Regions from separate parts of the Homo sapiens genome. Here regions 2, 3 and 4 are each linked to region 1. Evidence: promoter capture Hi-C in human tissues and cell types (Jung and others, 2019). All regions are on one chromosome and are shown on one strand. The core of a region is centred on a gene start or on the middle of the fragment in contact, and the rest is flanking DNA. Distances in the headings are between cores, read along the strand shown.

What was found. The method cuts DNA at HindIII sites, captures the fragments that hold promoters and counts their contacts. A contact is called where the count stands out against the background at its distance.
Region 2: a contact is called between a fragment that was not itself captured here and the fragment with the promoter of ZNF91 in region 1, in 1 of the 25 tissues and cell types used here (mesendoderm cells).
Region 3: a contact is called between a fragment that was not itself captured here and the fragment with the promoter of ZNF91 in region 1, in 1 of the 25 tissues and cell types used here (dorsolateral prefrontal cortex).
Region 4: a contact is called between a fragment that was not itself captured here and the fragment with the promoter of ZNF91 in region 1, in 4 of the 25 tissues and cell types used here (H1 embryonic stem cells, mesenchymal stem cells, spleen and 1 more).

Annotation. Positions count from the first base shown.
Region 1 is chr19:23,391,024-23,396,852 of GRCh38, reverse strand. It overlaps ZNF91 (zinc finger protein 91), which reads left to right and starts at 1,382. Exons shown (of 4, transcript NM_003430.4): 1 at 1,382-1,528. The coding sequence starts at 1,499. RefSeq lists an enhancer at 1,112-1,980. The HindIII fragment of the contact is 10,945 bases long and covers 1-4,486 here.
Region 2 is chr19:23,796,324-23,802,647 of GRCh38, reverse strand. The region is part of intron 1 of RPSA2 (ribosomal protein SA 2); the gene reads right to left. It also overlaps the pseudogene BNIP3P39. Among named protein-coding and RNA genes, the nearest start is that of RPSA2, 36 kb to the right of the region's middle. The HindIII fragment of the contact is 3,034 bases long and covers 1,505-4,538 here.
Region 3 is chr19:23,661,018-23,667,309 of GRCh38, reverse strand. It overlaps ZNF675 (zinc finger protein 675), which reads left to right. Exons shown (of 4, transcript NM_138330.3): 2 at 4,152-4,278; 3 at 5,101-5,196. Among named protein-coding and RNA genes, the nearest start is that of ZNF675, 23 kb to the left of the region's middle. RefSeq lists an enhancer at 705-1,445. The HindIII fragment of the contact is 3,871 bases long and covers 941-4,811 here.
Region 4 is chr19:23,826,670-23,833,419 of GRCh38, reverse strand. RPSA2 (ribosomal protein SA 2) reads right to left here. Exons shown (of 4, transcript NM_001355283.3): 4 at 4,552-6,350. The coding sequence starts at 6,258. The coding sequence ends at 5,371. It also overlaps the pseudogene ZNF726P1. Among named protein-coding and RNA genes, the nearest start is that of RPSA2, 67 kb to the right of the region's middle. The HindIII fragment of the contact is 3,080 bases long and covers 637-3,716 here.

The DNA of each region.
Region 1 (5,829 bases), core at 133-2,632:
CTTCTCTCTTGGAAATTAAAAGAAAATAGAGAGAGTATAAACAAAAGCAAAATATGCTTTTGATGAAGAAAGTTAGAAACATTTGTCTGCTTTGAAATTACTTAAAGGTTCCTTCAAATTGAAAAAGTAAAAATAATGTAGATTAAAATGAAATATAAAAAGTTAAACAATGGACCGGCATCATGGCTTACCCATGTAATCCCACTACTTTGGGAGGCTAAGGCAGGTGGATCACCTGAGGCCAGGAGTTCGAGACCAGCCTGGCCAACATGGTGAAACCGCATCTCTACTAAAAATACAAAAAATTAGTCAGGTGTGGTGGTGCACCTGTCATCCCAGCTACTCCAGAGGCTGAGGGAGGAGAATCCCTTGGACCTGAAAGGCAGAGGTTGCAGTGAGCCGAGATCGTGCCGCTGGACTTCAGCCTGGGCCACAGAGCAAGACTCAGTCTCAAAAAAAAAAAATTAAAAAATTATAAGAGATCATAAAATATGTATAAAAATCTAGAGAGGTCAAAAAAATTTTAATGTATTTTTATTTTTATTTTTTGCTGGGGTGCAGTGGCATGATCTCAACTCACTACAACCTCCGCCTCCCGGGTTCAGGCGATTCTCCTGCCTCAGCCTCCGGAGTAGCTGGGATTACAGACGTGTGCCACCATGCTCAGCTAATTTTTATATTTTATTTTTCATTTTTTTGAAATGGAATTTCACTCTTATTGTTCAGTCTGGAATGTATTGGCGCGATCTAGGCTTACTGCAACCTTGGCCTCCCGGGTTCTAGCAATTCTCCTGCCTCAGCCTCCCGAGTAGTTGGGATTACAGGCACGCACCACCATGCTCAATAATTTTGTATTTTTAGTAGAGATGGGGTTTCACCATGTTAGCCAGACTGGTCTCGGACTCCTGACCTCAGGAGATCCACCTGCCTCGGCCTCCCAAAGTGTTGGGATTACAGGTGTGAGCCACGGCGCCCGGCTGAGAGACTTACAATGTTTTATCAAATTAGCTTTATTATTGATAATACACAATAAAGTAAAAGTTGATTTTCTCTGGAACAAAAATTTTATGTATTATTAATATACATCAAATATTTTTGTTCACATTTTGAATACATTGAAAGAGAGCAAAGAAGAGAGAGGATTTTCCCATGCTCTGAGGTGGGCCTGGCTGAGCTGAGGAAGCCCTGCCTGAAAAGGCTGCAGCCTACGCTGTCACTCTTTCTTCATTCAGCCCAGTGTCTGATCACATCTTCTGTCACTCAGGGCCTGAGAAGGCGGGGCCTTAAACGTTATCTAATCAGGGACGCTGGGCTGGGAACTGTCCAATCAGGCACAAAGCTGGAGCGGACAGGGCGGCTTCCGGGATGTGGCTGGGCCTTTGTCTCTCGCTGCCGCCGGAGTTTCCAGGTCTCGACTTCACTGCTCTGTGTCCTCTGCTCCAGGAGGCCCAGCCTGTGTGGCCCTGTGACCTGCAGGTATTGGAGAGCCACAGCTAAGATGCCAGGAACCCCTGGAAGCCTAGAAATGGTGAGACTGCCAGGTGCGACGTCCCGAGAGAGGGAACGGGGCTCGTTGAAACCGGTGGGATGCGGCTGTGGCGAGCCTCAGGCCTTCCTTCAGTCAGCTCCACAATCCGTGCCCGGGTTCTCCTTGCCCAGCTCGGCCTCAGTCCCCTTCAGCGATAAGATGGCGGCTGCGTTGACAGGCGGGCTCCGGGCGTCCTGTCTCTTCCCTGCCCAGTGACTGTGTCCTGGCCTGGAGCCCTCTCTGGGCAGCTCTGCTCCCGCAGCGCCGCGTCTCTCCCAGATTGTGCAGGGATCACGGGAGGGTCGTCAGGGGAGAATCCTGACTGGAGGTGCTGGCTCATGAATAGGAAGCACTTTAGTCCGTGGGGTTCCCAGGGCCTCTTTTTTTCTATTAAAAATTTATGGGCGTCACCGCGAAAAGATTAAATAATTTAATCAAAGAGTGATTCAAACATTGTAGAGCACCCAGCTATGGTTTGTAATTTGTGGTCTATGAAAGGCCTTGAAGGAGATATTTTTATAAGGTTCATGGTAAAGAAAACCAAATTCAGTAATTTGCTAGGTACAGTTATGTAGGTTTTGTTTTGTTTTGTTTTTTGAAAAGGAGTTTTGCTCTCTCGCGCGGGCTGGAGTGCAGTGGCGTGATCTCGGCTCACCGCAACCTCTGCCTTCCGGGTTCAAGCGATTCTCCTGCCTCAGCCCTAGTAGCTGGGATTACAGGCGCCTGCCACCACACCAGGCCAATTTTTTTATTTTTCGGAGAGACGGGGTTTCACCTTGTTGGCCAGGCTGGTCTGGAACTCCTGACCTTAGGTGATCCACCCACCTTGGCCTCCGAAAGTGCTGGAATTACAGGCGTGAACCACCGCACCTGGCCTAGTTTCTTAATTTTTACAATCTAGGTGGAAATATCCTTCTTATGTAATCAGAGCTTAATTGGCAGTTTATAGTTGCTTAAGCCTAAATTTTGCTTCTGCCAATGTAGTAATTTACCAAAAAATGCTCTTGAGTTTAGATTTTTATTTTTAGAAGTAGAAATCCGAGGACTAGAGCCACCTCAATCTAATTGCCTGCCACTTAATTTTTCTCACACTCAAAAGGGGACGATTTTTCCCTGAATTTTTTACATGTGTCTCAAGCAGGGCCTCAAGTCCACCCCTCATCCCCTGTTCCTCCAGCCTAACTCTGGCTTGCAGTAAAATACTAAATTTCCAGTTTCGTCTGACATTCCCAAATGCCAATTTCCCCTCCCTAATTCACTTTATCAACTATTTGTCCTGTAGTGTACATTTTGATACCGATTTTAATCATTTTTATTTTTAATTTTTGAGACAGAGCCTTGCTCTGTCACCCAGGCTGGAGTGCAGTGACGCACTAGGCTCACTACAACCTCCGCCTACTGGGCTCAAATGATTCTCCTCTCTCAGTCTCCCAAGTAGCTGGACTTACAGGTGCCCACGACCACGTCTGGCTAATTTTTGTATTTTTAGTACAGACAGGGTTTCACTATGTTGGCCAGGCTGGTCTCGAACTCCTGGCCTCAGCTGGTCTGCCCACTTCGGCCTCCCAAAGAGCTGGGATTACAGACGTGAGCCACCGCATCTGGCCAATTAATTTTTTTTTTGACAAAGCATTTGATGGCACATTTAAAAAGATTTGTTTTTTTTGGTAAATACTCCCTGTGAGAAGAAAGCAAAGAATAATCTCCTGACACTGTATGGTAAAATATCTCTGTGCGTTTTTTTCGTCTATTTTCCCTAGACGCAGCTATCTTACCAGAATGTTTTTGGGTCAGGTTTTCCTTTTGGAAACTGTATAGGGTGATGTGTCTTCAGTCACCCTTCAGTTTTTTCTTGGACCTAGATTTCAGTACTGTATGGGGATAAACCAAGATACCCACCATGGCTATGTGTGCTAGAGTGTCTAGTGAATATCAGCTTCTGGGTCATATTCTCTCATAGGACAACCTGAGGTATTGAGTTTAGCTTCTCAAGTGTGGACGTGGATGCCCTGAGGCTGAGAGGCATTTCCTGGTGCACTTTTTTTTAAAGTTAATTCCTTGAGACATTAATATTGCCTTCACCCAATTCAGCTTTCATTTCTTGGAGACACATTGCTGGCCAGCCAATCAGATACTAGTATTGAGGAGAAAACAAATAATTTCTGCCTCCTGGATTCCTTTAGGGGGCAGAAAAATAGTGCAAGAAAAATAGTAAAAAAATTTCTAGAAAAAAAATACCCAGCACTCCAAAAGACAAAAAACAAAAAAAAACCCAAAAAACCAAAAAACTGACCCCAGTTAGATGGCGTAAGAACTTGCAGAGTATAATGTGCCTGAGGCACTCACTGGGGCATAGTTCAGAGTCTCCTGAGAGGGGGTTATTGAGCACTTAAGTGAGCAGGATGGGATGGGACAATCTCTCAAGTAATTGAATGGCCTGACTTGACACATGAGGAAGACATATCTGTATCTTGAAAAGCTTTGTTCACTTATTTTGACCTAAGGGTTTTTTTTTGTCTTATTTATGAGTCGAAATCTTGCTCTGTCGCCCAGGCTGGTATGCAATGGTGTGATCTCAGCTCACTGCAACCTCTGCCTCCTGGATTCAAACATTCAAGGAATTCTCCTGTCTCAGCTCCCCAGTAGCTGGGATTACAGACGTGCACCACCACTCCCAGCTAATTTTTGTATTTTTAGTAGAGATGGGGTTTCACCATGTGGCCCAGGATGCTCTCAAATTCCTGCCCTCATGATTTTTCCACCTTAGCTTCCCAAAGTGCTGGGATTACAGATGTGAGCTGTCGTGCCTGGTTCTATATCCTGGTATTTTGATTTTTGAGTTTAATGCTAAATTTTATGTGATGAAACTTGATACCTCCTAGAAGTGTTCCCATGTGACTATTTTTTTTTCTTTTTTTTTTTTTTTTTGAGATGGAGTTTCACTCTTGTCACCCAGGCTGGAGTGCAGTAGTGCAATCTCAACTCACTGCAACCTCTGCCTTTTGGGTTCAGGTGATTCTCCTGCCTCAGCCTCCCAAATAGCTGGGATTACAGGCGCTTGCCACAACGCCCGGCTAATTTGTGTATTTTTAGTAGAGGCGGGGTTTCACCATGTTGGCCAGGCTGGTCTCGAACTCCTGACCTCAGGTGATCCACCCACCTCAGCCTCCCAACGTGCTGGAATTACAGGCATGAGCCACTGTGCCCGGCAGACTAATTGTTTGCTACGTGATTTTTGATACAAATAATAACATAATATATTTATTGTCTGAAAGGAATAAATACTTTTGCTTTTCTTACTGAGGTATAAGATGTAAACACCTTAAACTTTTCTTCCCTTGTATGAACACTGTGTTTGCATAATTTTGCTGAATTATTCTACCACCTAGTTATAGTTTCAAAAGCCAAGTTAATAACTCTGACATAGAAATTAAAGCTTAAACCCAGTGACTCCAAGCTAAGCCTTTTGCAGGCTTGAGCCTGCAAAAGGAGGTTTTTAAAGACCCACTTAGTTCCTTCTGGGGAGCCTCCCCTGCAGATGTCCCAGCTTGCTCACCTCAGCTATGGAAGAAGCCCCTATACTGAGACAATCTACAGAGCCCTGGAAAGCTGGCAACCCACACGCAGATGCAGTTAAGATTAATATAAAAGGGTATTGGGAGGGTCTTACTGAAGATGAAGTTATTGTTTTGAGGCAGTTTCTAGACTTTTTAAAATAAAAGTTAGATGTATGTAAAAACTTGAATTTCAAAGGAGTATTGCAACAGGAGGAAGTAGTGACTATAAGATTTTTAAAGATTGCAAAGATGAGGCAGACAGTGGCTTTTTTTCCTAGGGAAAAGCAAACAAGATTAGTAAGGAGGTAGGAGGGGAATGTTTAAACAGAGGGTAATAAAATCAGATTTTGAGAATGTTTTACCCTGAAGTCAGCATGTTCTTAGGATAAACATAAAATGGGGTTGTATGGTGGCTCAGACTGAGGGTAGCTCAAAGTTCAGGAGCCTGTGGGAAGAAAATAAACTTAAGTTCAGTTAGATTAAGAAGTATTTTATGTTTACCACTGAAGACAAAGTCAGCTGATTTTTAATGAGGAAGAGGAGAAAATGCACAAAGCGTTTTTCTGGCTGTGTGATAGGTAAGAAAAGAGAGCAAAAAAATAGATACTGTCAAGGTTTCAGAGAAAAGGGAATACTTATACATTGCTGTTAACAGTGTACATTAATTCAACCATTGTAAAAAGCAGTGTGGCAATTTCTCACAGAACTAAAAACAATTACCATTTCACCAAGCAACCCCATCAC
Region 2 (6,324 bases), core at 1,772-4,271, 400 kb before region 1:
AACCAGAGAAACTCTCATCTGGGTACCAACCAAAGACATCTCTTGTATGATGGGAGGAACACACACCAGATGATTCATTTCTTTTACAGTAAGACAGAAGCAAAATTAACCACTCTTGTCAGCCTGACACAATTGTTCTGGAGATTCTCAAATGTCTCAGATGCCTGGGTGATTGTGAGAGCATTTCCAGTGACCCTGGGCTGATGGACCAATAATAAGCCAGCAGGAGAGACTCAGGCTGATTCTAAAAAGAAAATGAAACTATCCTGGTGGAGCTCCAGAACCTGGATCTCCTGTCCTGATTAGCTAGCTTTTGGACAATAACACTCTAGTATCACATTTTCCAGGTAGCTATAGTTGTGCTCAGGGCTCTGGCTACTTTGTGGCCTTGATCTCTCACTCCTAAGATGCTTGTTTACACTTAGAGATTCTGCCATCAGATTCTATTTAAACCTGTAGCCTCTCACAGAAAGGTAGCAATGTGAAAAGGTCAAAGAGTCACACTCTCAAAGGAGGGATCTGAAGTGTCTATGTGGACATCTCACAATGCAGAAAATGCCTCCTGTTGGTTTTCTGTACATTCTCAATCTAAAGTCTGGCCCTGTCTTGTAAATTCCAGGCAGAGACCAGACCTTATGTGCAGATTCTAGATAAAATCAACATCACTTTGCATTTTTGGCTGTTACAGCGAGTACAATCAAAGGAGAAATCTACTCACAGAGACTGCTCTAGAAAATTCTAAATAATATTTTACCTAAAAAAAAGCTGACACAACATGAATATAAGTACACAGTTTATTGGGGCCAAGCTTAAGCATTGTAACTTGAGAAGAAATATTCAAGATGCCTGGAATCTATACTGATTAGCAGCAATTACAAGTGGATTTGTGAAGGGAAAAAAAGAAGAGAGATAGAGAGTGGGGTGATACAAACTAGTTTGTGAGAAATTCTTATTTGTTTAAATAAATAACTTATTATTGGTTTAACTTATACCTACTTTTGGCAATAGTGAACAGCTTCAAGAGATCAATATATAGTTGAAAGTAGGGAGAAAGACATAATTGTGCTCTTATTTTAATGTCTGAGTTTTATAAGTAAAAAGACTGGCAGACAGCCACAGTGGCTCACGCCTGTAATCCCAACATTTTGGGAGGCCGACGCAAGTGGATCACGAAGTCAAGAGATCGAGACCATACTGGCCAACATGGTGAAGCCCATGTCTGCTGAAAAAAGTAATACAAAATTAGCCAGGTGTGATGGCACATGCCTGTAATCCAAGCTACTCGGGAGGCTGAGGCAGGAGAATAGCTTGACCTGGGAGGAAGAGGTTGCAGTGAGCCGAGATCACGCCACTGCACTCCAGCCTGGTGACAGAGCAAGACTCCATCCCCCCCAACCCTCCCCTAAAAAAAAAAAGACTTGCATTTCTCAAATGAAACTTTTGTTTTGTTTTGTTTTTTAATTTCTAGACCTAGATTTAGAATTTGGAGCTGCAGATTTAGGTCCTGGATGGGTGGAGTAGCAGCAGGTGTTACCTGCAATTGTGAGCATTTTAGCAAGAGGAGAAAAAGAGAAGTGGAGATTCTCATGTCTCCATGTCTACTCAATGCACACTTGTTACACTGATTGGGTTTCTGGGCTCCATGGTCTCTGAATCAGTTTCAGGTCTGAAGATACAAGAGTCATTGAAAGAAGTAAAATGGTTAATATCTGCCCTATTAAGTTTGTAGAAATCTAGGCCAGGTGAGGTGCCTCACACCTGTAATCCCAGCACTTTGGGGGCTAAGGTGGGTGGATCACCTGAGGTCAGGAGTTCAAGACCAGCCTGACCAATATGGAAAAACCCTGTCTCTACTGAAAATACAAAATTAGCCAGGCTTGGTGGTGCATGCCTGTAATCCCAGCTACTCGGGACACTGAGGCAGGAGAATCACTTAAACCCAGGAGGTGGAGGCTGCAGTGAGCTGAGATTGTGCCACTGTACTCCAGCCTGGGCAACAAGAGTGAAATTCCATCTAAGAAAAAAAAAAAAAGTTTGTAGAAATCTGCTCTAGCCCCTCTAGAAGTGACTGTGGAGGACTATAGATACCAAATAGGCAGAGACACAATTCTGCCTGCATATTTAGGTGACAGTATGCACTTTACAGCATAACTGTGAGTTGGCTAGAAGCCTGAGAGGGAAAGTCCCCTCTAGAGTAAAGCTTGGTTGGCACCTTATTTGTTTATATTATGTCCGGTAATTCTAGGAAATATAATTTTAAAAAAATTCTCTTCAGCCCCAGAGAAACCACAATAATAGAAAAGAAAGAGGTTGGGCATGCTGGCTTACACCAGTAATCCCAGCTTTGGGAGGCCAAGGCGGGTCGATCATGAAATCAGGAGATAGAGACCATCCTGGCTAACACGGTGAAACCCCATCTCTACTAAAATAAAAAAAAATAAAATAAAATAAAAAAGACGGGCATAGTGGCATGTGCCTGTAATCCCAGCTACTTGGGAGGCTGAGGCAGGAGAATCACTTGAACCTGACAGGCAGAGGTTGCAAAGAGCTGAGATCACACCACTGCACTCCAGCCTGGGAAATACAGCGAGACTCTGTCTCAAAAAAAAAAAAAAAAAAAGAAAAAGAAAACTCTTTCATTACACAATTAAATCTGAATGTCAAATGTATTACAGTCAGTCTGCTTAAGAGATCGAAAAGACATAAAGATGGTTACCATAAATAGTTCACAAGTAGAAGAATTCACAGCACCATGTCATACATAGTTCATCCTAAATTCACCTGGACATTGGGGAGGTCATCCATATATGCTAATTGGTTATATTCAATGACAAAATAACCTTTTCACATCTTCCTGACAAGATAGTTCTGCAACTTGAAGCCAGCTGCCTGCTGAAGGCAGACTTTCACTCTTCTACAAAAGTGGTTGAATAGGGTGCTATCTTTTTGGCTACTTGCATTTTAAAGCAGTACCTCTCTCCTCCCTGAGGACGGGGTTACAGTACTCCGGCTTCCCCTCTTCTGGTGGCCAGTGTCCTCTTTTGTTTCCTACCATCTGCCACTGCGGTATGGACCACAGCACAGGGCTCACAGCTGGCAGCTCACATCATAGGTGAACGCCAATTGCCATAGCAGCACTTTAGTGTCACATCAAAGAGTGAAGCCTGAGCTGCAGGAAGAGAGCCTCCCTGGGTAGAACTGCACCTTCACAATAACGGAAATGAGAGCATTATTTAAGCCACAGTTTCTATTTATAATGGTGACATGGAAAATATACTGCTAGATTTCCAGCATGCATCCAGATAGAGATAGCTCCAAGAGTTCTCACTGTGACAGCCACGTCTTTCACAGACATTATGGGATACTAATAGGGCTTCTAAAACAGATACACAAAGCATTCTACAGAAAAACAGCTCTCACTCTGAGAAAGATTATATTGAGAGAAAAAAAAGAAGTTAAAAGCATCTTAAGAAAAAACTGAAATTAGATATAAGATTGATCAAGTCAGCCAGAAAATATTCCTGCAAAAACAATTTCTCTCTAAATACCCAAAGTGCATAGCTACTCTCAGCATGAGAAACATGAGTATTATGAAGAAAAGAGGTATATTATCAGCAGAATCATAAAATATTTTTTCTATCTCTGCTGCTCTCTAATTTTCTAGCCTTTGAATGCAGAATCTATATTCAAATATATCTGACAACTTCCACCAGCACTTTGATAAAAAATTAAAATCTGACTGTGTTAATATAGTGGAATATACATGAACCTGCAAGGTAGCTAACTGGAGAGCTACTACAGTTTTTGGGTGGCCACATCATCTGTCTTTATTTGTCCTACAATAGCAGCATTCCAATTTGTGAAATGAAAGACATTGAAATTATGCTTACTTATAATTATCTCTATTGGTTAAATTAATAAGCATAGCAGACTAATATCTACTGTAACAATGTGGTAGTAAAATTTCTTTGGATATTAGATATAAATATGTAAGTAGGAATAATTTTAACATACTAGTCATAATGTATGTAGGATTTTTTAAAAAATTTCTGTAACTGTATTTCAATTGAAAAACTTTACATTTCAAAAGTATGAATCACAATAATAAAAGAATTAAGGAATTCATTCAAAGTAGACATTGTGGCTTTATATTCATACTATTGTAGAAAATACTATTAAATGTATATGAATGCAGGTTGTCTAACAACACCACACATAACTATGCTAATTGTACTGAAGTAATAAATAGAAACCAAGGTATGACAATATACTCCACTGTTCAGTTTATAAACTGTACTATTTTTGCTTTTGTAGTGTAAGTACTTCAGCCTGTAAATAATCATGTTGGATAAACAGGTTTCTGTCAATCAAATTACCAATATCTTTTAGTCCTTATAATTCTGTTTTGCTAAATTTAATCCTATTTTTATGCTAAACTTTTGTGTGCTCTTGGAATGAGTTTTACTGTGAACAAATCTGTGTCAACTTTAAAAGACTAAAAATAATAAGAATAACCTTTTGCCAAAGCAGAAACAAAGCAATTAATCTCAGGTCCCAGATAAAGACAATCGTGAGTAAAAAAAAAATAAATACATAACAAAGATTTATTTAGCTGTTAATGATTTACATATATTTCAAAAAAAGGAGATAAAAATCTACACATAATCTAAGTGTTTTAAGAAAAGAGATTTTAGTAAGATATTTTCTCTTATTTTTATGTGGACTAATTAAGCCTCTTATTTCTAATTTATATTTTCTTTTACAACAGCTAGGTCTCTAAACATGTTCTTGAACTCATGGACATCTACATTTTGCACATTGTGCACACAGGAAAGAATGTTTACGGAAGAAAAAGCAGAAAAGAGAAAGGTGTTATATAAAATTCATGGGTTCATATGAATAAAGCAAGTTCTTAGAGACCTATGAAGAGATTTAGATTCTGACACAACAATAGTGGGAGACTACAACATCCCACAGGCACTAATAGACAGATAACTGAAGAAGAAAATTAACAAAACATTAGAACCTAAACTCAACACTTGACCAAATAGTCCTAATAGACATCTACAGAACTCTTCAGCTTGACAAAAATATAATTCAACAAAAAGAAAACAACTTGAAACCATACAATTACATAAAAATTAAACAACCGGCACTTGAATAACTTCTTGATAAATAATGAAATTAAGGCAAAAACCAAGAAGTTCTTTTAAACAAATAAGAACAAAAAAACAGGCCAGGGCTGGGCATGGTGGCTCATGCCTGTAATCCCAGCACTTTGGGAGGCCGAGGCAGGCAGATCATGAGGTCAGGAGTTTGAGACCAGCCTGGCCAAGATGGTGAAACCCCATCTCTACTAAAAATACAAAAATTAGCCCATCATGGTGGCACATGCCTATAATCCTAGCTACTTGGGAGGCTGAGGCCAGAGAGTCGCTTGAACCTGGAAGGCAGTGGTTGCAGTGAGTTGAGATCGTGCCATTGCACTTGGCCTGGGCAGCAAGAGCGAAAATCCATCTCAAAATAAATAAATAAATAAATATAAATAAAAATAAAAAACCAACACATCAGAATATCTGCAATACTGCTAAAGTAGTGTTAAAAGGGAAATTTATAGCATTTAATGCTAAAAAAGTTTGAAAGATCTTCATTTGACAACCTGACATCATAAATAAAAGAATGAAAGAAGCAAGAGCAAATCAATCCCTAAGCTAGCAGCAGACAAGAAATAACCAAAATCAGTATCAAGAAATCCAGGAATTAAGTCTATGAAAAAAAAAATAAGATAAATAAACCACTAGCTAGATTAATGAAGGAAGAAGGGATGATCCAAATAAACACAATTAGAAATAACAGGAGACATTACTATTGACCCCACAAAAATATATTTAAGTCTACTATTAATACCTCTGTGCACACAAACAAGAAAATCTAAAAAAAATGAAAATATTATTGAACAAATACATCCTTCCAAGAATGAACAAAAAAGAAATCAAAGCCCTAAATAGATGAGTAAGAAGCTCAAAAATTGAATTAGTAATAAAGAGCCAACCAACCAAATAAAGCCAAGGACCAGACAGATTCACAGCTGTGTACAAAAAAGTGCTGGTATTATTTCTACTGAAACTATTTTAAGAAATTAAGAAAAAGTAACTTTTCTCCAACTTATTATATAAGAACAGCATTATTCTGATACTGAAACCTGGCTGAGATTAAAAAAAAAAAAATCAGGCCAATATCTTTCAACATTCATGCAAAAATCCTCAACAAAATACTGACAAACCAAATTTAGCAGCATATCAAAAAAGCTAACCCACGATGATC
Region 3 (6,292 bases), core at 1,627-4,126, 270 kb before region 1:
TGCTACTGCTCACTCTTTGGGTCCACACTGCTTTTATGAGCTGTAACACTCACCATGAAGATCTGCAGCTTCACTCCTGAAGCCAGTGACACCACGAGCCCACCGGGAGGAACAAACAACTCCAGATGCACTGCCTTAAGAGCTGTAACACTCACCGCGAAGGTCTGCAGCTTCACTCCTGAGCCAGCGAGACCACGAACCCACCAGAAGGAAGAAACTCCGAACACATCTGAACATCAGAAGGAACAAACTCCAGACGCGCCACCTTAAGAGCTGTAACACTCACCACGAGGGTCCGCGGCTTCATTGTTGAAGTCAGTGAGACCAAGAACCCACCAATTCCGGACACAGTCTCAGAAAAAGGACAAAAACAATAGGACTCAGAAAAACAAACAGACGAAAGGTCTCAGGTCCCTCACCCAAACTGTGAGGTGGTAGTCAGGCACTTGCACGTGGAAACCTTTCAGTTTCATCAAAAAGTGGCCCTGGGTTGGGGGGAGGGGAGGAGAGAGAGAGAAAGAGAGAGAAAGAGAAAAAGAGAGAAAGACTTCCCTGTATGTAAAAGGAGAAAGGAAAAAATTAAATCCAATACTTTGGGCCTACCTCCTCTCCTGCCTGGCTCACCAAAATAAGTTACCAGTAGAGGGTCTTGACTGCAAGTTGTCCAGATTCTTGGCCTTTTGAACAAAGAATTGGATGAAACAGCAAAGCAAGAAAAGAATGAAGCAACAAAGGAACAAAACGGGTTTATTGAAAATGAAATTACACTCTGCAGTGTGAAAGTGGGCCCGAACAATGGCTTAAGGTCCCAGACAACAGAATTTTCTTGGGTTCAGATATCCCCTAGAGGTTTCCCATTGGCCACTTGGTGCTCACCTCATGTAAATGAAGTGGTGGCCCACAATTGCTCTGATTAGTTGCAGGAAGAAACCAATCAGATGCTGAAGCAAAGTTAAAAAGGTCACAATCCTCTGCAAATATCCAATTGATTGCAAAAGCAACCAATTAGAGGCTAAGGTGAAGTTACAAAGTGTCACTTTTATTCAAATAGAGACTCAGCCCACAATCAGTCTGAATGGTTGTGGACAGCCAATTTCCTATCTGCCTCACAGAAAAGGTGGGGATTTGCAAAGGCAGTAGCCTCTGGTCTTTTTGTTACTTAGGCATGGAAAGTTAGTTTTCCTTTCCATTTAGGTCTAGGAATTCGGTGTGAAATGGTCTTAGGTTCCCTGCCTCCAGACCCTATTCTCTTGCCTCATTAGTACATGTGTACCTCATGGTTTCCACATGCAGACTTATTTAGATGTTGCTGCCTTCTGTTTATTCTGTAAACTTTAAAGAGCCAGCAAAGAATATGAAAATTGGTAGTCTTCATTTGAGAAGTATTTGTGTTGTAACAAGAGTGCTGAGTGTAAGGGACTCCATGCTGTGCCTGCTTTCTCTAATGCTAATCATGAGCCCCAGAAAAGCAATTGATAGGGAACATTAATGGGTTTAAAATACCCATTAATGGCTGGCTGCCATGGCTCATGCCTTTAATCCCAGCACTTTGGGAGGCCAAGTTGGGCGAATCACTAGAGGTCTGGAGTTTGAGACCAGCCTGACCGACATGGTGAAACCCTGCCTCTACTTAAAATACACAAAAAATTAGCTGCTTGTGGTGGCAGGCGCCTGTGTTATCCCAGCTACTCAAGGCTGAGGCAGGAGAATCGCTTGAACCCAGGGGGCGGAGGTTGCAGTGAGTCGAGATCACGCCACTGCACTCCAGCCTGCGCTACAGAGCGACACTCCATCACACACACACACAAAAACCCAAAGAACAAAAAAACCACTCATGAACCCTAAGTCTGCAGAATTACATCACAGAGAGTGGAGCCACAGTTTCCAAGTATTTTTTAAGCCCATTAAAGCTTTAAAGGCAATGCCCAGCTAAGTGGTTTTCAGCCCAGGTTTGATTTTTTTTTTTGAGGTGGGGTCTTGCTCTGTGCCCAGGCTGGAGTGCAGTGGTGCGATTTCAGCTCACTGCAACCTCCACCTCCTGGGTTTAAGCGATTCTCCTGCCTCAGCCTCCTGAGTAGCTGGGATTATAAGCAAGTGCCACCTCGGCTGGCTAATTTTTGTATTTTTAGTAGAGATGGGGTTTCACCATGTTGGCCAGGCTGGTCAGGAACTCCTGACCTCAAGTGATCCCCCCGTCTTGGCCTCCCAAAGTGCTGAGATAACAGGTGTGAGCCACCATGCCCAGCCCAGGTTTCTAATTAAGATTACATGGCCAGTTTGCAGAAATATCTACTTGTGCCCTATCCACAGGTCTGTTTATTCTTCTGGGCGGAGGTATCATGTTTTGTTTTTTGTTTTTGAGACGGAGTCTCACTCCGTTGCTCAGGCTGGAGTACAGTGGTGCGACCTGAGGTTACTGCAACATTCGCCTGCCAGGTTTAAACGATTCTCCTGCCTCTGCCTTCCAAGTAGCTGAGATTACAGGCACGTACCATTATGCCTGGCTAATTTGTGTATTTTTAGTAGAGATGGGGTTTTGCCATGTTGGCCAGGTTGTTCTCAAATTCCTGGCCTCGAGTGATCTGCCCACTTTGGCCTCCCAAAGTGCTGCGATTACAGGTGTGAGCCACTGTTCCCGCCCATGTTGTTTTAATTAAGTGCCTCTTGTGACTCTAACATGAGGCCAAAATCAAGTATGAGGGGTTCAAGATATATTCATGAGAGTTCTACCTTTGCTCTAAAGAATGGTCAAAGGGCTGGTTCTGTTTGGTTTGGTAGTGACAGGAAAGTGTGGTCCGTATTTTCATTGCTGTAGCAGAAATTGCTGATGTCCATGGCAGGGGAGGACACCTGAGGACAGAAGAAAAGGAACTTTTACTTTTATCTCCGTGGAGCAGCTCATGGTTCCTGAATCGCTTCTGGTATGAAGGACAGAAATGGGTGGACTTTTTCTGTGAGTCTTGGTCCTTCTGCCTGTGAGTGTGGTGGTACCAGGTAAACATGTGGTGCTGATACCTTTAAAGGCATATTCTCCAGATGCAGGTGTAATTTGTCCAGAGAATCGCATGTGAAAAGAATTTTCAGAGAAAGGAAAAAATGGCTTTTTTTCAGTTAAACATGTCTCAGATCAAGAGCTGTGTCCGCTCTGCCTCCTGGAATGCCATGCGTTTAGTACTTGCAAACTTTGACTTCTCTACTTGGGTTTTTTCTCCCTAATGAATTTGTTTTAACTACTTATAAAAACTCTTATGATAGTCAAGAGTCTCTGAAAAATACTTCTTTTCCATATACCAGAGGCTTCTCTACATCATGACTTCTTATATGCCATGCAGAATTCTCACGATTATTTTATAATCTGCAATATTAAAAATGTTACCTGTGGCTATTGAACATGCAAAGGTGTAGATAACTCAACATTTCTATTGGGAAAACCTGCGGTCCTTAGTAAAAATGGAGAACATCTAATGTTGAGGCTCCATCTGTGTTCTCAATTAGCTATTATTTAAACAAGATAGCATTTATTACACAGAAGCTTGTGAAGCACTCAAAAAGCTACGTGTTTGTGTTTATGCCCTTAATTATGTATTTTTTTGAGATGGAGTCTCACTCTTGTTGCCCACGCTGGAGTGCAATGGTACGATCTCAGCTCACTGCAATCTCCACTCACCACAGCCTCCACCTCCCAGGTTCAAGCCATTCTCGTGATTCTCCTGCCTCAGCCTCCTGAGTAGCTGGGATTACATGCATGCGCCACCACGCCTGGCTAATTTTGTATTTTTAGTAGAGATTGGGTTTCTCCATGTTGGTCAGGTGGGTCTTGGAACTCCCGACCTCAGGTAATCTGCCCGCCTCGGCCTCCCAAAGTGCTGGGATTAAAGGCATGAGCCACTGTGCCTGACCTATTATATATGTTATTATTTAGAAAATTATTATATATACACTGGTGTTGTGGCTCTTGTGCCACTCTGTTTTCTCAGGGTTAGAGAACACATTAGGAAATATTTCTGTGTAAAAAATATGATTTTATTGGATAATTTCAGTCACTCCTATAAATCAGAACCTGTTCTCTTTAGTCTCTCATTTTACCTTGAGTCAAATTATAATCTCTGTTGGCTACCTGGTGAATATGTTTGTGTGTATGTGTTTTTCAGGGACTGTTGACATTTAGGGATGTGGCCATAGAATTCTCTCTGGAAGAATGGCAATGCCTGGACACTGCACAGCGGAATTTATATAAAAATGTGATTTTAGAGAACTACAGAAACCTGGTCTTCCTGGGTAAGGATAACTTAAACACACAGTTTCTTTTTTTTTTTGTTTTTCTTTTGAGACGGAGTCTGGCTCTGTCACCAGGCTAGAGTGCAGTGGTGCGATCTTGGCTCACTGCAACCTCCGCCTCCTGGGTTCAAGCAATTCTCGTGCCTCAGCCTTCCAAGTAGCTGGGACTACAGGCGTGAGCCACCATGCCTAGCTAATTTTTTTTTGTATTTTTGGTAGAGACAGGGTTTCACCATGTTGTCCAGGCTGGTCTCGAACTCGTGACCTCAGATGAGCCATTCGCCTCGGCCTCCCAAAGTGCTGGGATTACTGGTGTGAGCCACCATGCCTGTCCCAACAGACAGTTTCTAATATACCGTAAAGGTTTCATTTCTCTTCTTTGTAGAATATATTTTGGTAATGTATGCTTTGCATAAATGAGTTTCAGATCCCTGTTTTTGAGAAAATCTTAAGGATTTGTCTGTATAGAGAAGAATTTCTTTAGTATGTTTCATCTTGATCTGAACTTAACACATTCCTGAGCTGATCTGTGTCCTTCACTCTAGTGGTAATTTCAGAAGTTTAGTGGCATAAAATATTGTTGCCCACACCTTAAAATCTAATTGCCAACACCAAGTTTTGATTCAGTAGTACTGGGTAGTGAAATTAAGAACCTACAAATTTAGAATATTTTCTAAGTATTTAAAAATTTCTGTTATAAGTCAGTATTTTGGGATTAATTTACTAGACTATTCCATTACATTCTCTTTACTGAGCACATTACTAGGTTGGTAATTGGAGAATATGAGCAAAATTAATGTTATTTATTTTTTAATAAAACAGGTATTGCTGTCTCTAAGCAAGACCTGATCACCTGTCTGGAGCAAGAAAAAGAGCCTTTGACTGTGAAGAGACATGAGATGGTGAATGAACCCCCAGGTAAGTGAGAATGAAAGTGAATACAACAGGTGACACTGATGAGAGGTCCAAAGGTCAAAGAGAAAGCCAGTCCTTAAAATGTGATTTGGGAAGCCGTGTTTTAAAGGAAATAATTTCTGGAAAGCCTGAGTATTTTATGCTCTCACATTTGAGCATTTTCTGTCTTATGCTTTTAAATTCTCTAAGGTTTCTGTTTACATTTTTGGTAATTTTCCTTTAAGTTTTCGGTGAGAACCAGTGTCCGCTTCATGGCATACAAGAGACTGTGCAATCTGAATCCTTACTCATTTTTTTTGGAGGCACAGAAATACCTACATAATTTTGAGAAACTGTTAAATGATTTTTTAAGTTCTTTTTTTCCATCTTGTCTGAAACGTATGAGAAGTGGTTTCTTTTCTATTGTTTTCTTTCCTTCTTTTTTTTTGAGACAGAGTCTTGCTCTGTAGCCCAGGCTGGGGTGCAGTGCTACAGTCTGGACTCACTGTAACTTTTGCCTCTTGGGTTTAAGTAGTTCTCCTGTCTCAGCCTCCCAAATAGCTGGGATTACAAGCACGTGCCACCACACCCGGCTAATTTTGTGTTTTTAGTAGAGATGGGGTTTCACCATGTTGGCCAGGCTGGTCTCAAACTCCTGCCCTCAGGTCATTTGCTTACCTTGGCTTCTCAAAGTGCTGGGATTACAGGTGTGAGCCACTATTCCCCGCCCTTTTTTTTTTTCATTTTTCTACACATTTTACTTGTTTGTATTTCTATAGTCTTCTAATGTAGTCTTGAAATTATAAAGGGCTGGGCATCGGCTCAAGGGCCAGGCACGGTGGCTCACGCCTGTAATCCCAGCACTTTGGGAGGCTGAGGTGGGCGGATCAGGAGGTCAGATAAAAACTAGAAAGAAGCTTTCTGAGAAACTGCTTTGTGATGTGTGCATTCATCTCACAGAGATAAATCTTTCTTTTGATTCAGCAGTTTGGAAACCTGGCTAACATGGTGAAACCCGGTGTCTACTAAAAATACAAAAAATTAGCCAGGTGTGGTGGCACACATCTGTAATCCCAGCTACTCAGGAGGCTGAGGCAGGAGAATCGCTTGAACCCGGGAG
Region 4 (6,750 bases), core at 927-3,426, 440 kb before region 1:
GTTGTCAAAAGCATTGGCACATCTTTCAGGTTTGCAAAGTTTCTCTCCAGTATAAATAACCTTATGTCTGTAAAGAATTGAGGACTTTTTATAGGCTTTGACACATTATTCACACTTGTAATATTTCTCTTCAATATAAGTTATCTTATGTGCATTAAGTTGTAAGGATTAAAGGTTTGCCAAATTTTTCCCATTTGTAGGGTTGCTTTCAAGTATAAATTTTCTTATGTTTAGTTAGGGCTGAGGACCAGGAAAAGGCATTGGCACATTCTTCCCATTTGTAGGGTTTTAAACCAGTAAGAATTACCTTATGTTTAGTAAAGCTTGAAGACAGGTTAAAAGATTTGCCACATTCTTCACACTTGTAGGGTTTCTTTCCAGTATGAATTCTCTTATGGTTAGCAAAAATTGAAGACTGCCTAAAGGCTTTGCCACATTCTTCACACTTGTAGGGTTTTACTCCACTGTGAATTACCTTATGTTTAGTAAAGCTTGAAGACAGGTTAAAAGATTTGCCACGTTCCTCACATTTGTAGGGTTTCTCTCCAGTATGAATTCTCTTATGTGTAGTAAGGGTTGAGGACTGGCTGAAAGCTTTGCCACATTCTTCACATTTGTAGGGTTTCTCTCCAGTATGAATTATCTTATGTCGAGTAAGGATTGATGACTGGCTAAAAGCTTTTTCATATTCTTCACATTTGTAGGGTTTCTCTCCAGTGTGCATCCTCTTATGACCAGTTAGGGTAATGAACCATAGAAATGCTTTGCCACCTTCTTCACATTTGTAGGGTCTCTCCCAGTATGAATTACCTTATGTGTAGTAAGGTATGGGGACTGGCTAAAAGCATTGCCACATTCTTGACATTTGTAGGGTTTCTTTTCAGTATGAATTATCTTATATATAGTAAGGTTTGAGTTTTGGCTAAAAGGTTTGCCACATAGATTTGTTGGGTTTCTCTCCAGTGTGTATCCTCTTATGTCTAGTTAGGGTTGAGAATTGAATTAATGCTTTGCCACATTCTTCACATTTGTAGGGTTTCTGTCTAGTATGGACTCTCCTATGTTCAGTAAGGCCTGAGGACCAGATAAATGCTTTGCCACTTTCTTCACACTTGTAATGTTTCCCTCTAGTATGAATTCTCTTATGTTTCGTAAGGGTTGAGAACTGGGTAAACGCTTTGCCACATTCTTCACATTTGTAGAGTTTCTTTCTTCTGTGCATCCTCTTATATCTAGTTAGGGTTGAGGGCTGGCAAAATGCTTTGCCACATTCTTCACATCTGTAAAGTTTTTCTTCAGCACAAATTATTTTATGTGTAGTAAGGGTTGAGTGTTGCTTAAAAGCTTTGCCACATTCTTCACATTTGTAAGGTTTCTGTTCAGTATGAATTTTCTTATTATTAGTAAGGATTGAGGACCAATTAAAGGTTTTTCCACATTTTTTACATTTGTAGGACTTCTCTCTAGTATAAATGCTTTTATGTTGGGTTTTGTGTGAAAGCATGCAAAATGATTTGACACATTTTTGACATTTGAAAGGTTTTCTTCCAGTATATCTTATTTTTTGTTTGAATTTAAAAATTTATAAAGGACTTTCAAACATTTACCACATTGAAATACTTTGCTCTGAGTAGTTGTGAAACACTTGTTAAGTCCATTATAACCTTCTTTGTGCACCTGACACTCATCCACACTTTTACAGCCATTTCTCAACAGTAAATTATCATGTCCACATTTTTCATGTCTTCTCAGTATTACTTTTTAAAAGGAATCTTCCATGCCCTGCTCTGGCCAGAGGTCTTAAGCAAAATGAGGGCATATACCTAAAAAAATAAAAATAAAAATAATAAATTACTCCACCTACTAGACTCACATGGATATAGTTTTAAAATCTTACCTTTAAAATTATACCAAATACATAAACAAGAGGGCATTGCAAAATACCACAGGCTCTAATTCATTTATAGATATATAAATGTAACTAAAATATACAGACCCAAATACATCTGTAAAAAATTTATAAATAAGTGTGTGCAGTGTTCCAGGTGAGCACAAAGAAAAAAAGGAAGTGTTAAATTCACCCAACACAGCTTTTCCTGCTTTCCACTATAACGTAGTACCTTCAGAAGTAAATTCCTAACTCTTGGTTTCTGTTTTAAAAGAAAGCTAAAATACTGGCACATTCGTTGTTATTTCTGACTTTTAGGGACCTTTTCTGACACTTGTTTCAGTCTCTCATGACATAAAGTGCTGAAAGAAATGGTGGCATATTTTGAAATGAGAGTTTGAGTCAGCTGAGACCAAAAAAAAAAGTGGTAGAGCAGCAGACTGACAGCAGTACCACAGAAAAGGAACAGGTGTAGCAAGTGATTTCTGACTCCTACAAAATAACAAGAGTAAACTCTGTTAATTAAAAATTAAACACAAAATTTCAGACAGCACATATCCTAAGAATATGTGTGAGAAACTCCCATAATCACCAGCCAAAACAATTGTTTTCAGACTATGCCAGGACAGAACAACATTATAAAGATTTTGACAGGTAGCTTTTTTTAATGTCCAAATCACAATCAAAGATAAAATATACAAAATAGGGCAATATGATCCCAGCAAAAATATTATAAATTTTTCTGAAAGAAAGCATAAAAAAAATCAGAGGTATAAATTACTTTTAATAATTGGTAATAAATTGAATAGTTCTCATTGATTAAAATAGGAACAGAGACAACTATGGAAATTCAGAAAAATGAGGACAAGAACAAAAATATTTAAGATTTCAAAAAAACAAAAATTGTGGAGGTAAAAAAATTTAAAAAAAACTAATAGATCCTAAAAGAAAATATGATGTAAAAATAAAGAAGTACAACAAACTAGTATCACAGAAAGATATTTATAACAAACATGTATATAACCACAATTTCTAGTCAAAGACAAAAAGATTATCTTTGAAGCTGCAAGATAAAAGTGATGTGCCAGGCCAGGCATGGTGGCTCCTGCCTGTAATCCAGGCACTTTGGGAGGCAGAGGTGGACGGATCACCTGAGGTCAGGAGTTCAAGGCCAGCCTGGACAAGATGGTGAAACCCTGTCTCTACCAAAACGACAAAAATTAGCTGGGTGTGGTGGCACATGCCTGTAATACCAGCTACTCAGGAGGCTGAGGCTGGAGAACCACTTGAACCTGGGAAGTGGAGGTTGCAGTGAGTTGAAGTCATACCACTATGCTCCAGCCTGGCTGGGGGATAGAGAGACGTTTAGTCTCAAAAAAAGAACTATGTTATGGAGTCATGAAAAAGTTGTTAAAAAAAATACCTATTAAGTGAGAATTATACCATCAGTGAATCTATCCTGCCAAATAAAAAAAAAAAACCTTCCAAAGTAATGAAATTCTAAAAAAGTATATTGGAACTGCATATGCCCTACATATAAAAGGTGCTAACAACAGTTCCTTTTACTGAAAATAACATGATTCAAAAAGCTACACATAATTATATAAAAATACATTATTTTCTAGAAAAAATATGCAAATTCACTTTGTAGAATTTATTAGCATTATCCTAGTGACGCAGAAAACATTTTTAATTATTCTCTGAAATTTGAACAATAAAAGAATAGAAATCATTATAAACATCAGTTAATGAACATACAACATAAGATATAATTAGCAACATCAATGACAAATTTGAGGGAAGATGTAATAAAGAAGAATTTTTGTATGCAACCTGTTTTTCTACCAGATTAAAATGTATTGTTGTATCTTTTAGACATTATATGTAGTCCCCAAGGTACCACAAAAATATTTGTATAAATACACAAAAGAGGTTGGGCATGGTGGCTTATGCCTGTAATTCCAGCACTTTGGGAGGCCGAGGCGGGTGGATCACCTGAAGTCAGGAGTTCAAGACTAGCCTGACCAACATGGAGAAACCTCATATCTACTAAAAATACAAAATTAGCCAGGCATGGTGGCACCTGCCTGTAATCTCAGCTACTCAGGAGGTTGAGGCAGGTAAATTGCTTGAACCCAGGAGGCGGAGATTGCGGTGAGCCAAGATCAATGCCATTGCACTCCAGCATGGACAACAAGAGTAAAACTCAGTCTCAAACAAATAAATAAATAAATAAGCGAAAGCATATCAATGCAAACATCAAAAAGACACAAAGATGGAAAGAGAATAAGACACAAAGATGCAATAATCAAATAAAATGCATAATAAAATAACAGTAAGTCTAATAATTAAAAAAGACTGTAAGTGGCAGGATGGAAGTAGACATTCCATGCAAACATTAATCAAATAAGAGCAGAAAGAGTCAAAATAATATCACACAAGCTACATCTTAAGTCAGAAAGTATAATATTTTATAAAATGTGCTTGAAATTGAAACTCCAAAGAAACAAAGAAGGACATCAAAAAATAATAGATTCATTCACAGGGAATCTATGACAAATTTGTGTGTGTGTGTGTGTGTGTGTGTGTGTGTGTCTCACATTAGGGTTCCAAGTATATAAAGCAAATATTGACAGAATGGAAGAAACACACAGAAAGCAATATAATTAGAACAATATATTTTAATACCACACTTTTTGTAATAAAACTAAAACAAGAAAGAATGTTAATAAAAGAACAGACTACTTAAAGGCAGTATAAAACAATTATTCCAAACAGAGTTATGGAGAACACTCCTCAACAACATCAGAATACACACCCTTCTCAATAGCTCATACAACATTTCCCTTGAAAGACCACATCTTAGGACAAAAAGGAAGTCTTATCAAATTTTTTAAAAGTAAATTTCTATGAACTACATTCTATGACCAAAATGGAATGAGAATATACAACGATAAAAGCAAAAAAAAAAAACTGAAAAATTTACAAATATATAGAAACTAAACAACACACTCTTGAGTGTGCTCTTACACAAAGGTTGAAATACTTAATATTGCAGAGTCCATCCTGCTCAATGCAATCTACAGATTTAATGCAATATTTTTCAAATTTCTCATTGCATTTTTGAAGAAATAGAAACACCAACCTCAAAAGTATACAGAGACTCAAAAGAAAAACAAACTACCCAACAATATTAAAAAAAAAAAAAGAAAGAAAGAATGCTGCAGGCATTAAAGTGCCTGATTCAAAACACATTACAAAGCTACCAAATTAAACAATTTGATATGAGTATAAAGGTGAAAAAGTAGACTAATAAAATAGAATGCAGCACATATATAAACTTTCACATATATGGTCATATAAGTAGTCATTTATAGACTCATAATTATTGCAGCATTTTTTTTTTTTTTTTTTTTAGAAACTGATGTTTATTTTCCATCAACCATTTTTCCATGCTGCTTAAGAGCCTATGCAAGAACAGCTTAAGACCAGTCAGTGGTTGCTCCTACCCATTCAGTGGCCTGAGCAGTGGGAGCTGCAGACCAGTCTTCCGTGGCAGGCTGAGCGCTCCAGTCTTCAGTAGGGAATTGCTGAATAGGCACAGAGGGCACCTGTACACCTTCAGACCAGTCTGCAACCTCAGGCTGAGTAGCAGTGAACTCAGGAGAGGGAGCAGTCCATTCACCCTGAAATTCCTCCTTGGTCACTGCCTTCTCAGCAGCAGCCTGCTCTTCTTTTTCAATCTCTTCAGGATCTCTGTAGAAGTACAGATCAGGCATGACCTCCCATGGGTGTTCACGGGAAATGGTGCCACGCATGCGCAGAACTTCCCGAGCCAGCATCCACCACATCAAACCCACTGAGTGAGCTCCCTTGTTGTTGCATGGGATGGCAATGTCCACATAGCGCAGAGGAGAATCTGTGTTACACAGCGCAATGGTAGGTAGGTTAACATAAGATGCCTCCGTGAGAGGCTGGTGGTCAGCCCTGGGGTCAGTAACCACAAGAAGCCGTGGCTCCCAGAAGGCTGCCTGGATCTGGTTAGTGAAGGTTCCAGGAGTGAAGCGGCCAGCAATTGGAGTGGCTCCAGTGGCAGCAGCAAACTTCAGCACAGCCCTCTGGCCAGTATTCCTGGAGGATATAACACTGACATCAGCAGGGTTTTCAATGGCAACAATAGCACGAGCTGCCAGCAGAAGCTTCTCCCAGGTCCTCTTGAGATTTATGATATAGATGCCATCACTTTTCCTTTTATAGATGTAGTGTTCCATCTGGAAGTCAAGATTGGTGCCACCTAAGTGGGTTCCTGCTGCAAGGAACTTAAGGACATCCTCCTCCTTCATTTGCAGGACATCAAGGGCTCCGGACATTGTGAAAGTTTCCCTTTAAGTTACGACGGGAATCCAGAACAACGCCGTATGGACCCCTCTGCAGGTAGCGCGGAAAAGCTGCAGCATTGTTACTGTAAGCAAATAGGTAAAAGCAATGCAAATATCTTTCAATAAATCATTCAGTAGATATAATTTGAAATATAAAAATTCTTCCCAGGCACGGTGGTTCACACCTGTAATCCCAGCACTTTGGGAGGCCAAGGCAGGCAGATCACAAGGTAAGGAGTTCGAGATCAACCAGACCAACAATGGTGAACCCTGTCCTTACTGAAAAAAAAAATACAAAAATTAGCCAAACGTGTTGGCACGTGCCTGTAATCCCAGCTACTCGGGAGGCTGAGGCAAAAGAATTGCTTGAACCCAGGAGGCAGAGGTTGCAGTGAGCCAAGATCGCCCCACTGCACTCCAGCCTAGGTGACAGGGCAAGACTGTCTCAAAAAATATATATATATATTCTGGAATATACTCAGT